2 separate regions of the Homo sapiens genome follow, and region 1 is linked to region 2. The links are contacts of gene promoters, found by promoter capture Hi-C in human tissues and cell types (Jung and others, 2019). All regions are on one chromosome and are shown on one strand. Each heading gives the region's core, a stretch centred on a gene start or on the middle of the fragment in contact. The rest is flanking DNA. Distances are from core to core; before and after follow the strand shown.

Evidence for each region. Contacts are between HindIII fragments. The study calls those that stand out against the background at their distance.
Region 1: a contact is called between a fragment that was not itself captured here and the fragment with the promoter of PBOV1 in region 2, in 2 of the 25 tissues and cell types used here (H1 embryonic stem cells and aorta).

The regions. Positions count from the first base shown.
Region 1 is chr6:138,334,385-138,340,877 of GRCh38, forward strand. It overlaps ARFGEF3 (ARFGEF family member 3), which reads left to right. Exons shown (of 34, transcript NM_020340.5): 33 at 1-804; 34 at 1,911-6,493. The coding sequence ends at 2,102. Among named protein-coding and RNA genes, the nearest start is that of SMIM28, 40 kb to the right of the region's middle. RefSeq lists enhancers at 1-599, 600-1,201. The HindIII fragment of the contact is 4,689 bases long and covers 1,111-5,799 here.
Region 2 is chr6:138,216,554-138,223,422 of GRCh38, forward strand. It overlaps PBOV1 (prostate and breast cancer overexpressed 1), which reads right to left and starts at 1,938. Exons shown (of 1, transcript NM_021635.3): 1 at 1-1,938. The coding sequence starts at 1,842. The coding sequence ends at 1,435. All of the region lies in intron 4 of ARFGEF3 (ARFGEF family member 3), which reads left to right. The HindIII fragment of the contact is 10,102 bases long and covers 1-6,869 here.

The DNA of each region.
Region 1 (6,493 bases), core at 2,205-4,704, 120 kb after region 2:
AGAAGCACGGATTCTTCCCAGCAGTGTTCATCTGAGGATGAAGACATCTTTGAGGAAACCGCCCAGGTCAGCCCCCCGAGAGGCAAGGAGAAGAGACAGTGGCGGGCACGGATGCCCTTGCTCAGCGTCCAGCCTGTCAGCAACGCAGATTGGGTGTGGCTGGTCAAGAGGCTGCACAAGCTGTGCATGGAACTGTGCAACAACTACATCCAGATGCACTTGGACCTGGAGAACTGTATGGAGGAGCCTCCCATCTTCAAGGGCGACCCGTTCTTCATCCTGCCCTCCTTCCAGTCCGAGTCATCCACCCCATCCACCGGGGGCTTCTCTGGGAAAGAAACCCCTTCCGAGGATGACAGAAGCCAGTCCCGGGAGCACATGGGCGAGTCCCTGAGCCTGAAGGCCGGTGGTGGGGACCTGCTGCTGCCCCCCAGCCCCAAAGTGGAGAAGAAGGATCCCAGCCGGAAGAAGGAGTGGTGGGAGAATGCGGGGAACAAAATCTACACCATGGCAGCCGACAAGACCATTTCAAAGTTGATGACCGAATACAAAAAGAGGAAACAGCAGCACAACCTGTCCGCGTTCCCCAAAGAGGTCAAAGTGGAGAAGAAAGGAGAGCCACTGGGTCCCAGGGGCCAGGACTCCCCGCTGCTTCAGCGTCCCCAGCACTTGATGGACCAAGGGCAAATGCGGCATTCCTTCAGCGCAGGCCCCGAGCTGCTGCGACAGGACAAGAGGCCCCGCTCAGGCTCCACCGGGAGCTCCCTCAGTGTCTCGGTGAGAGACGCAGAAGCACAGATCCAGGTACATCCCTGTGGCCACAGCAGGTGGGCGGGAGGCTGGGTTTCCAGTACTGGATGGGCCCCCCCTTGCAGAGCAGGCATACACAGGCTAAGATTTATAGAAACAGGTAGGGGGTATGAACCGATTTCCCTCCAAAGTCAGAGGACTGCCTGAACCTAAGTGCAGGATCTCCCAGGATCAGTATGTCATTATGAAGCTGGAATTTTACTCTCAGGTAATTTCAGGAACTGTTTTTCTCCATAGTAATGTATATTATTGAGAATTAGGAACTTACCTGTATAAATAAGGTGAGGCTAAAGCTTATAACATGTAAGCTTTTTCAGTCTGGACAACACGGCAAAACCCATCATCTCTACAAAAAAAAAAAAAAAATTAGCTGGGAGAGGTGGCACATGCCTGTAATCCCAGCTACTTGGGAGGCTGAGCAAGGAGGATTGTGTGATCCCAGGAGGCAGAGGTTGCAGTGAGCTGAGATGGTGCCACTGCACTCCAGCTTGGATGACATAGAGAGACCCTGTCTTTAAAAACAAGTAAGCTTTGACTAGCATTGAGTTCTTAGTGTGTCATTCGAAAATGGCCCTGAAGAAATTCTGTAGTTATGAAGCATTATATAAAAGAAAAAAGCAAAGTAAATATTGTGTGGTTATGCCAATGAATTTTTTTCAAATTGTTTTCATCTCAAGTTTTTCTAGCCCATCCTGTGCACATAAAAATTCTCATTCTTCAGGGAGGCTTTGAGTGTAATTCTATGGTGCATCAAAAAATGAGTTTGAGATTAACGGCCTGTGGAGATCTCACTGTGAGAAGGCAAGGGAGGTTTGTTGTTGTTGTTGTTTTTAAATCTAAGGAATAAGTAAGAGTTTAGTAGTTTGTGAAAGCTGAAAATAAGGCGAGTCTCTGCCCATCTTTATGTATGTGAAGTTATGATGTAGGCATAATAAATTAATACGCCTACAATTTATTATAGGCATATTAAATGAGTGAAAACTAATTTATTGCAACTAAAGCCTGGAAAAAAACCATTTCCACATTGGCAGGGCCACTCTCAAGTGTTCAAATAAAACCAGGGGGGAAAGCCACTGATTTTCTTAAATCTTTTCTCTTAGGCATGGACCAACATGGTGCTAACAGTTCTCAATCAGATTCAGATTCTCCCAGACCAGACCTTCACGGCCCTCCAGCCCGCAGTGTTCCCGTGCATCAGTCAGCTGACCTGTCACGTGACCGACATCAGAGTTCGCCAGGCTGTGAGGGAGTGGCTGGGCAGGGTGGGCCGTGTCTATGACATCATTGTGTAGCCGACTCCTGTTCTACTCTCCCACCAAATAACAGTAGTGAGGGTTAGAGTCCTGCCAATACAGCTGTTGCATTTTCCCCACCACTAGCCCCACTTAAACTACTACTACTGTCTCAGAGAACAGTGTTTCCTAATGTAAAAAGCCTTTCCAACCACTGATCAGCATTGGGGCCATACTAAGGTTTGTATCTAGATGACACAAACGATATTCTGATTTTGCACATTATTATAGAAGAATCTATAATCCTTGATATGTTTCTAACTCTTGAAGTATATTTCCCAGTGCTTTTGCTTACAGTGTTGTCCCCAAATGGGTCATTTTCAAGGATTACTCATTTGAAAACACTATATTGATCCATTTGATCCATCATTTAAAAAATAAATACAATTCCTAAGGCAATATCTGCTGGTAAGTCAAGCTGATAAACACTCAGACATCTAGTACCAGGGATTATTAATTGGAGGAAGATTTATGGTTATGGGTCTGGCTGGGAAGAAGACAACTATAAATACATATTCTTGGGTGTCATAATCAAGAAAGAGGTGACTTCTGTTGTAAAATAATCCAGAACACTTCAAAATTATTCCTAAATCATTAAGATTTTCAGGTATTCACCAATTTCCCCATGTAAGGTACTGTGTTGTACCTTTATTTCTGTATTTCTAAAAGAAGAAAGTTCTTTCCTAGCAGGGTTTGAAGTCTGTGGCTTATCAGCCTGTGACACAGAGTACCCAGTGAAAGTGGCTGGTACGTAGATTGTCAAGAGACATAAGACCGACCAGCCACCCTGGCTGTTCTTGTGGTGTTTGTTTCCATCCCCAAGGCAAACAAGGAAAGGAAAGGAAAGAAGAAAAGGTGCCTTAGTCCTTTGTTGCACTTCCATTTCCATGCCCCACAATTGTCTGAACATAAGGTATAGCATTTGGTTTTTAAGAAAACAAAACATTAAGACGCAACTCATTTTATATCAACACGCTTGGAGGAAAGGGACTCAGGGAAGGGAGCAGGGAGTGTGGGGTGGGGATGGATTATGATGAAATCATTTTCAATCTTAAAATATAATACAACAATCTTGCAAAATTATGGTGTCAGTTACACAAGCTCTAGTCTCAAAATGAAAGTAATGGAGAAAGACACTGAAATTTAGAAAATTTTGTCGATTTAAAATATTTCTCCTATCTACCAAGTAAAGTTACCCTATGTTTGATGTCTTTGCATTCAGACCAATATTTCAGGTGGATATTTCTAAGTATTACTAGAAAATACGTTTGAAAGCTTTATCTTATTATTTACAGTATTTTTATATTTCTTACATTATCCTAATGATTGAAAACTCCTCAATCAAGCTTACTTACACACATTCTACAGAGTTATTTAAGGCATACATTATAATCTCCCAGCCCCATTCATAATGAATAAGTCACCCTTTAAATATAAGACACAAATTCTACAGTATTGAAATAAGGATTTAAAGGGGTATTTGTAAACTTTGCCCTCCTTGAGAAATATGGAACTACCTTAGAGGTTAAGAGGAAGGCAGTGTTCTGACTTCTTTAGGTGATCTGAAAAAAACACCCTTATCATCCAGTGTACCATCTAGAGATCACCACAGAATCCATTTTTTTCCCAGTTCCACAAAACACTCTGTTTGCCTTCAGTTTTTACTCACTAGACAATAATTCAAGTTTAGAAACAGGTAATCAGCTATTTGATCTTAAAAGGCAATGAATTGTTGGGATATCAGTGAACTATGTTGTATACTTTTGAATTTTTACATTTTATAAATGGAATTGAAAGTTGGATAACTGCTTTTTTTAAATTTTCCAACAGAAGTAACACCACAGTTGCTTTGTTTCTTTTTATAGCTTACCTGAGGTTCAGTTCTTCTTTGTGAACCTGTGAGTACTCCACAGTTTACTGGGGGAAAAGGCTTCAGTAAAGCAGAGGCTAGAATTACAGTATTTATACATAGCAACTTTTCATAAAGTAGAAAAATTCAAAGGAAGCTGTCTCAATTTGAGAATACCAGCTGGGCACGGTGGCTCACGCCTGTAATCCCAGCACTTACTTTGGGAGGCCAAGGTGGGCAGATAACCTGCGGTCAGGAGTTTGAGACCAGGCTGGACAACATGGTGAAACCTCGTCTCTACTAAAAATACAAAAATTAGCCAGGTGTGGTAGGATGCACCTGTAATCCCAGCTACTTAGGAGGCCGAGACAGGAGAATCGCTCGAACCCAGGAGGCGGACGTTGCAGTGAGCCAAGATTGCACCATTGCACTCCAGACTGGGTGACAAGAGTGAAACTCCATCTAAAAAAAAAAAAAAAAAAAAGTGAATACTGTATCCCAAAGTATGTTAGTTGTTTGTTTGGAAATCAGCATTCTCCCCGATGCTCTATTATGGGATCCAAAATTCTTGAACATAAGTTTACCCTGTACTGTGTCCAAACACTGTTCTAGTTCTAGCCTGATTATGGGTCCCAAGAATAAAAGGATGAGTAGGTGTACAGAGCTCTTGACCTACAATTTTTTAAGAGTGTTTTGGTACCTTCCCATTGTCTTCTCTATAACTCAGTCCTAACATACTCTGCACTCGAGTTACCAGCCATCCACACTGACATCAGATTTCAACCAGAACCATCACTGAGTGACAGCAGTACTTCTCAGAGGTATTTGCAGCTTGATGCAAAGTAGTCTCTAATGAGTAGGCATTCAGGTGGTTCTTCCCAGCAGGTGGAGAAGAAAGGGAGGAGATGAAGAACACTGAGAGGGGAGTGGCACCTTCCCAGGCTGCCCAGCTCAGTCTCTTGCCCTGTTCCTGTGACTCAGCTGCCCACTCCCCCAACTTTGTTTCCCTCCCTCCCAGTCTCTGAAAGTGTCAGGTGTTTCTCTCCTCACAGTCTCTTTTGCAGCAACAGTAAGACAAAATTCAAGGCAGCCTTTTAAAGTTACGAACAGTTATTAGCATGTATTTACAGACCTAAGCAGAATGAGAGTTTATACATTGTTTTTAGTTGCCTGTATTTATAGCCAAAAGTATATTACCTTAAAGTTGAGATCTTTCTCTTCTTTTCCTAAATTTTGGTAAAGTGTGCTTCATGAAACAAACATCTGGAAAACTCCAAGTATAAGAGACCCTGGACTGATGATGGCCCAGCCAAGTATATGGAGGGACAGAGTTCTCTCTGTCATTAATGAGGACATCGGTTTTCACAATTGAACCTCATGCACTGTCCACAGCATCTCACCTAGCTCCTGTATCTCCTGATCTGCTTTTAAAAATAGTTAGTTAGGCTGCCTTTTTACACCACCTTCTCTCTCTCCCCTTGTGGTAATTTTCCAGCCTTCCCCATAGATATAAAACTAGAACACCTTTATGATTTGGGGTCTATGTAATGACTGACCGATAAGAACCCAGGCAGATGCTAACATACTTAACAGCTCGCATTAAAATACTTTAAATCAGGCGTGATGGCTCATTCCTGTAATCTCAAGCACTTTGGGAGGCTAAGGTGGGTGGATCTCTTGAGGTCAGGAGTTCGAGACCAACCTGGCCAACGTGGTGAAACCCCGTCTCTACTAAAAATACAAAATTAGCCGGGCATGGTGGCAGCTGCCTGTAATCCCAGCTACTCGGGAAGCTGAGGCAGGAGAATTGCTTGAACCTGGGAGGTGGGGATTGCAGTCAGCCAAGATTGTTCTGCAGCATGGGTGACAAAGTGAGACTTCGTCTCAAGTAAATAAAACTAAAATTTTTAAATCAAACATGACAAAAATGTTAATATAATTCAGAAGTACCTTGAAATTGAAACATATTTGTGCAATGATCATTAGGCTTTTTGTCCTTGTTGTTTTAAAATGAGGCTTATACAGAGTGAGTTGAGAGTCAAGTAGCCTTCGCTGTGAGACGGTAATGCAGTTATATAATAGATACCCTTGACTTTGCCAGATTCATCACAATACTGCTTATACAGGAAAGTTTTCTCAGAAAGGAAAATCCATTAGTATCAGTCCCATCAAGCCAAACAGAATGAAGACCTTTGATAGTAATAGCAAGAGGTTACAAATAGCAGGGAGGAGGCGAGTAGTGAATGTCACTGTGATTGCAAACCCTTACCTGTATTATCACACGTAGTCCTCACAACAACCTTGTGAGACAAGTGTTGTGTTCCTCATTTTTTCAGAGGGGAACACAGACCCAGAGAGGTTAAGAAATTTGCCCAAGATAACAAGTAAAAGGCAAAGTTGGTTGCAAAAGAGGTGTTTCTGAATTCAAGGGCCATACTCTCTCTCTGACAACATGCTCTAAGTCCATAGAGTAAGCACTCTAGTATGAAAAAAAGTTTCAAGGAACGAGGCCATGAAAATGAGACTATTTGACATCTCAGAT
Region 2 (6,869 bases), core at 688-3,187:
AGTTTCTTCAGATGGTTAGTTTTGATGTTCTTAACTCGGGGCATTTGGTCTTCTAGAGTTCCTTTTGGAAAGAATGTGATCATTAGTGAAGTTTGAGAGTGAAATGGCTAATTTGTCTTGCTGCTTATAACAGGGAGAAATCTCTTCTTAGCCTGAAGCCATTGAGACCCTTCAGAAGATTTGTAGCAATCTCTAGCGTTAAGGAAAAATCCAATGTTTGATGAAAAATATTTAACTCCTGAATGTGTCGTTGTTGGAGGTTGATCTAACAAGTTTGCAAACATATTGTTTGTGCAGTTAATGCAGGGAAGTGTCTAAAATATGTGGTTCTGCTAAGTAAATGGTTCTCAAACAGCCTTCCCTCTTCCTGCTCATAAGGTTGAGTGATGAGAATCTTTTTCTACTTTGCAAACAGACTAATATAATTCTTACTGAGTTTTCCTCCCATCTTTCTTTACCCTTTGATATGACTGCCTTCAGCAGATGGTAAAAATATATGAAAAAGTAATGAACAAACATTGAAAGCCTGGAGATGTGATTTTCCTTTAAATAGTTTATGCATTATTTTTGAGATGGAGATTTTCATATTATCTATTAATATCTTTTTAAAGCACCACCATTTCCAAGTGTTTACTATATTTCAAAATCACTCTACTAAGTGTCTTTAAACTTTTCTCACATAATCTTAATTTAAGCGCATATAAATGCAGAGGCCCTCATCACTTACTCTGGATGTTCTATAGATCCAAACAGAATGGGAAAGTTCTCTGATTTTTTAATCATTTATTCAGCAAATATTTGATTGTTTTCTATGTGTCAGGCACTGTGCTGGGCACAGAAGATCCCATAGTGAAGAAAACAAAACCAAAGAAAAACACAATCTGTGTTTGGAGGCCAATGATAGAGTCAGAAATCAATTAAATATATAAATACACTAGTCCCCACTTATCCAAAGTTTCACTTTCCTTGGTTTCCATTACACATTGTAATGTCTCCTCAACTCTTGACTCAGGCATGACTTGAACATTTCACTAGTTACTAAGCGAAAATTAGTGGTATACTATAAGTATTGTTTTTATCCCTCTGGTGCCTAGCGGAGCATCTGGCACATGGCTTACTAATTGCTCGTTAGTTTAGTTATTGACTAATGGAGAGACAGAAACACATGTGGTAGTTTTTAATGGCCCACTAGGATAAATAACAAACTAAATTGAGATAATAGATAATAATCTATGAGTTCAAGATTGAGAAAGATCAACATGGGTTTGTATTTTAGAATTGAAATAACCTCCTACATCATCAAATTCTTTTCATAAGTAAATTGAAGTTGGAATGGTTCAGTTACTTGGCTGGGCTTAAACAGTCATTGGTAGCAGAATTGCCTTTTCAACCATTTTTATTTTTCTGGAAAGGCTTTGCAGCAGGGCTGAGAGTTTATATGATCTGTGGATGTATAGTTTTGGATAAGTAGAGAAGACAGCATTCCAGACCTAGGGTCTGAGTTAACTGCAAAGTCAATGTGAATAATATGGCTTCTGAAGATAATGAGGAACATTTCATTGAGGAACCTTTCATGGTCAAGTGTGTCTGCAAGGGTGTGAGAATTGCATGGTGTGACTGTTCTATGGAATAATCAATGAACTCTGTTGCCTTTTGACTTCTTTTTACTTTTTCTTTTTTTCGAAATACCTTGTAGCAGAATGGTAAGAGCACAGTTTCTGGAGCTAGAATGCCTGGTAGCCTTGGGAAGTTACTTAATCTGTGCCTCAATTTTCTGATCTGTAAAATGTGAATAATATTGTGCATATCCTCATATTTCTGGTTCCTTAAGAAGGCCCTCATATTTACTACTGTAAATTGAATTGTAGCTCTGTAGCATAGAAGAATAATTTTGTAAATTATTATACATCAATTAGCCACCTCGATATATTTAAGGTCCTAACCATCAGCCATGATTCCACAATCTAAGGAAAACACCCACTCTTTAGCTGAGCCAATGTTTCTGTTCCATCCTACGAGGTAGAGTTTTATGATTTGATTATTCCAGAAGAGCTCTGTAATTATTGTTTCAGATGTAGAGAATCAGGTTGGCTGTAGCCCTTTAACAACCCTATCTTGAGGAGCTTGCTTGGTCAGGTCTATAAGTATAAACAATAAAACTATCAAAAGTTCTGTGTTTGTATGGGCAGAGACAATTTGAGATGAGGCTCTCATTCTGCAGAGAGTCTGAGAGGGAAAGAGAAAAGGAAGGAGTGAGGGTGTTATCTGGGGCATACCAATGAAATTTGACTTCTTAAAAACCCAGCTGTGAGATTAAGTCAAAATCTGCTTGTTACAGATTAAACTTGAAAAAATAAGTCGTGGAACTTTTAAATTTGTTGCTTTTTTAGACCTTTTTTTATTGATTTATTAAGGAAATATATTTTTGTTGCCAACAGTGCATAAAACTATATAGGATTAAAAACAAAATATTCAAAGGCAAGGGTTTATAATTCAGTAGGAAAGCAATAAAGAGGCAGCCAATTACCACAATTCAAGGTAGCTGTGTATGTTTAATCAGGAGAAGAGTTCAGGAGGCACATTCAGGAGGAAGAAGCATGTTTAGCAGGGCAGAACATCCTTTTAAGGAGGGGATACTATTTGAGTTGGACTTTGAAAGGTAGGTGGGATTCAGATAATTATGTTGGGAGAGAGGGCATTCTTGGTAGAGAAAAAAAGTCCTGGGGATGGAAACTGAGATTAGTGAGGGATAGTGGACGATGAGCCTGAAAGGGTGGTTGAAGAGGCTCTAGAGGGCCTGCTCTCTGTAAGCAGGCAAGTGATCCAGACAGAGCTGGGTGTTAAACATGGAAGGTGAGGAGGGGGAGGATGGGTTTGCAGGATGATTCAGGAATCAGCAGAACCAAGTCTTTGGCATCGTGAAATATCTTATTGGAAGAGGCTGAGCCAGAGGTACCAGGACTTAATCCAGGTAGGTGGCAGTAGGAAGGGGCCACCTGGGCTGAATGCAGAAAGGTGTGGCTGAGTGCACTGACCTGGTTTGCAGAATAAGGAGCAGCTGGTGACTGGCAGTGACATGGGCAGTGAGTAGGTAGGAGAGGGAAAGCCCAAGTTGCCTGCAGGACTCACAGCCAGAGTTTCTGGTTGAGTGATGGTCTTACGGGACTAATTTAAGAGATAGAGACTGAGTTCATATTATCAGGTCTCAATATTTATATTTAAATTTTGACATAGATGTGCGTGTGTGTGTGTGTGTGTGTAGAATATTTTAAAAGATGAATTTAAAGAAGTGCTAGTAGTTTAACATTATGGGCATTCCAAAAGAGAAAAAGTTAATTGTAAATCCCATCATGTTGACTGATTCTTGTATACTGATTTCTCATCATATCTACTTATGTGTTTATAGTTATATTCATTGTGTGTATAGGATTTTTTTTCTTTTATCTTCTCTTTTCTTTTCCTTTTCCTTTCTTTTTTTCTGCAGGGTTTCACTGTCACCCAGGCTAGAGCTCAGTGATGCAATCACGCAATCACAGCTCACTGCAGCCTTGACCTCCAGGTCTCAGGTGATCCTCCAACCTCAGCCTACTGGGTGCGCCACTATGCTCAACCAATTTTTGTATTTCTTTTGTAGAGACAAGGTTTTGCCATGTTTCCCAGGCTGGTCTCGAACTCCTGTGTTCAAACAATCTATCTGCCTTGGCCTCCCGAAGTGCTAGGATTATAGGTGTGAGCCACTGCAGCCAACCTATTTCTTGCTTTATACTTTAAATCATAAGCATTTTCCACATGGTTCTCTCTATATATCTATATATATGTAGTCCTTTAAGTACAGTTTTAATGTTAGCATAATTAAGAATTTTTTATTTTTATTTTTCTATTATTTCCATTGTATTTATTGCCAATACAGAATACTTCCTGTATGTTCTGGATGAAAGAGAAATCTGTAGGCTGCCCTAAGCAACTATCTGTAATTTATATCTTTACTTCTATGAGAAAATGCATCCTGCATTCTACTGAAATTTTAGGCTAGAGTCTATTTCTAAAACATGAACTACTTGTACAATGGAACAAAAAAATAAGTCTTTTCCACTCAACCTTTGGGTGCAAGTTCTAATACACTTGCTGGTCTTCATGTCTAATATACTTGCTAGAAGGACATCGACTCAGCCCTTCCACAGTAATTTCTTTTTCCCATCTTAATCACATATTATCATCCAGCAGTAATCAACACGTAACTGACCAATCCAGTTTGTTCTCCATAAGGGTTGGAATTAGTAGATCTCATCTTGACCAACTAAATTGCCTTGCCATATAAACACAGCTGAATCTCCTAGAATTCACTTGAAATAGTAAAGCAAGTTCATATTCTAAAATAAATATGGTTGAGACTATGCCTCATGTATCGGAAACCACCCCAAAATGCAGTAGGCAGTTCAGGCTGGGCTCGGCTGTCCTGTTCTTTTGCTGATCCCAGCTGTGCTTGCTCATACATCTTCGGTCAGTTGGTGGCTTGGCTGGGGCTGGCTGACTTACAATTGCTGCATCAGGTCCAGGTGGGAAGATTGGTACCTCTTTCTATAAGGTCTTTCATTTTCTAGCATGGCAGGTTATCTACATGGTGGCAGTGGCAGGGAAAATTGAGGAACTCAGAGGCCCCAAGTGTTTTGGGGGTTTGGTTTGTTTGCTTGCTGATGTCCCATTGGTCATTTCAAGCTAATGGTCACTCCACACCTCATATTTAAAAGGTGGGGAAATAGATTCTGTTTCTTGATGGGGATATCTACAGGGGTAATTAAGAATTTTAGAACAAGAAATGTTTAGCTGTTTACCATATTACAGCCTTAGTGAGGTTGATGTGATTTTCATGGAATTGAACAAAAGAAATTATTTGGTCTAATATGTCAATATTTATTTGTGATGTTTAGAAACTGAAATTAAGGATTACAACCTGGGGAAAATGTTGACTCTAGAAATAGATTTGTGAGTCCTCTAGTTAGAGATGACAGTTATAAGACTTGGCCAGGGGAGAAGGTTTAGAAGGGAGAAGAAAATATAAATAATGAACAGATTATTTGTTCAAGTGAATTAGCTAAATTAATTATAACTAATATTTATATATTTTTTCTGTGACTATCACTGTTACAGTATTTCCTAGAATTCAGTGCTAAGGGCATATCTGATGAATATCAATAACTTATTTCTAGTGGCAATCAATAAAGGCCAGAAAAGAACCCGTGACATGACCATAAACCAATGAGGAATTTGAAAGATTTTCCACCTTGAGTATTTAGGAGCTCTAGCAAAATCTGTTGACTAAAAAATCTCTCAGAATAGCTGTTTGCCAGAAATTTGGCAAGTTGAGCCAGAGAGTGATTTGGTTGATAACCTGCTAATAGTGGTAGATGTTTTATGAAATAAAATAACAATGCATTTTCTTAGGGTCAAAAATAAAGATTGAGGTTGTAGCCCAGCTACTTGTTGTGACCTCTAATCCACAGTCTCTGAAGCAAAGGGAAGGATCAGTGGCTCATCCTAGTTCTTCTCTGGAAGTCCTAGATTCTAGCTGTCAGCCTTTTGGAGTTGGAACAGTGTTGTAGAGCAGGGGCTTCCAATCTTTTAGCTTCCCTGAGCCACATCGGAAGAAGAATTGTCTCAGGCCACACATAAAATACACTAACACTACCGATAGCTGATGAGCTTAAAAAAAAATTGCAAAACAAACTTATAATGTTTTAAGAAAGTTTACGAATTTGTGTTGGGCCACATTCAAAGCTGTCCTGGCCTACATGTGCCCCGTGGGCCGCAGGGTTGGACAAGCTTGTTGGTAGAAGTTCTGAGTTATGTCTACAAGGCATGTGGGACAGAAATGAATGAAACAGTAGTTCTCAGGTGGGAGCAATTTTGTCCTCAGGGGACGTTTAGCAATTCCTGGAGGCATCTTCACTTGTCACAACTGGCAGTGGGAAGGAGGAGCTGGGGGAATGGGGGTATTGCCACTGCCATCTATTGGGTAGAAGCCAAGGATGCTGCTACATATCCTACAATGAGCAGGACAGTCCTGCCGACAAAAGGAATTATTTTGTCTAACATGCGAATAGTGCTGAGATTGAAAAACCTTGATCAAAGTAAGAAAAAAGGTTTGTCTTTGTCATCAACATTTTATTTTTTTAAAAAACTTCAATAGCTTTAGGGGTACAAGTGGCTTTTGGTTGCATGGACAAATTGTGTAGTGGTAAAGTATGAGATTTAGTGAACATGTCGCTTGGGGAGTGTACCTTGTACCTCATATATAGTTTTTTATCCCTCATCCTCCTCCCTCCCCCATTCTGAGTCTCCAGTGTCTATTATACCACTCTGTGACATCCATAATTTAAATTGAAGTAAGAAAATGTCCTCTGAAAATTCCTTGTTTACTCTGTGACTCCATCCCTCCCTCACTCCAAAGACAAACATTCTGCCATTTTGCGAACTTCAGAAGACTAAGTCTGCTTTGTTGTTTGTGCCTGAACCATGAGGGAAAAAAATCTCTGTTGACATTTCATGGTCGAGGTACACTTTCAGCAATGAACACTCCATTTGGCTGGGCATGTGGAAGGCAGCACACCCTTCACCCCATAGAAGGGCATTTGGTGTCTCAGTATTCCTGTGCTTGTCACTGAATTTTCTGTTCTTGCTGCCGAATTTGACAGTAAAAAAAGAACTGGAGTGTTTCTAAAGAGAAGGAATTATGCAATAATTTTTAACTTTATGAAGTTTAAAGCCAATCTACATGAGAGGCCAGAAGGAAATGTGTGTTAAGCAACAAAGCTAAATTCTCAGCCAGAGCCAGAGTCTGGCTTTGAAATGCGCCTGGCATTAAGGTTTTC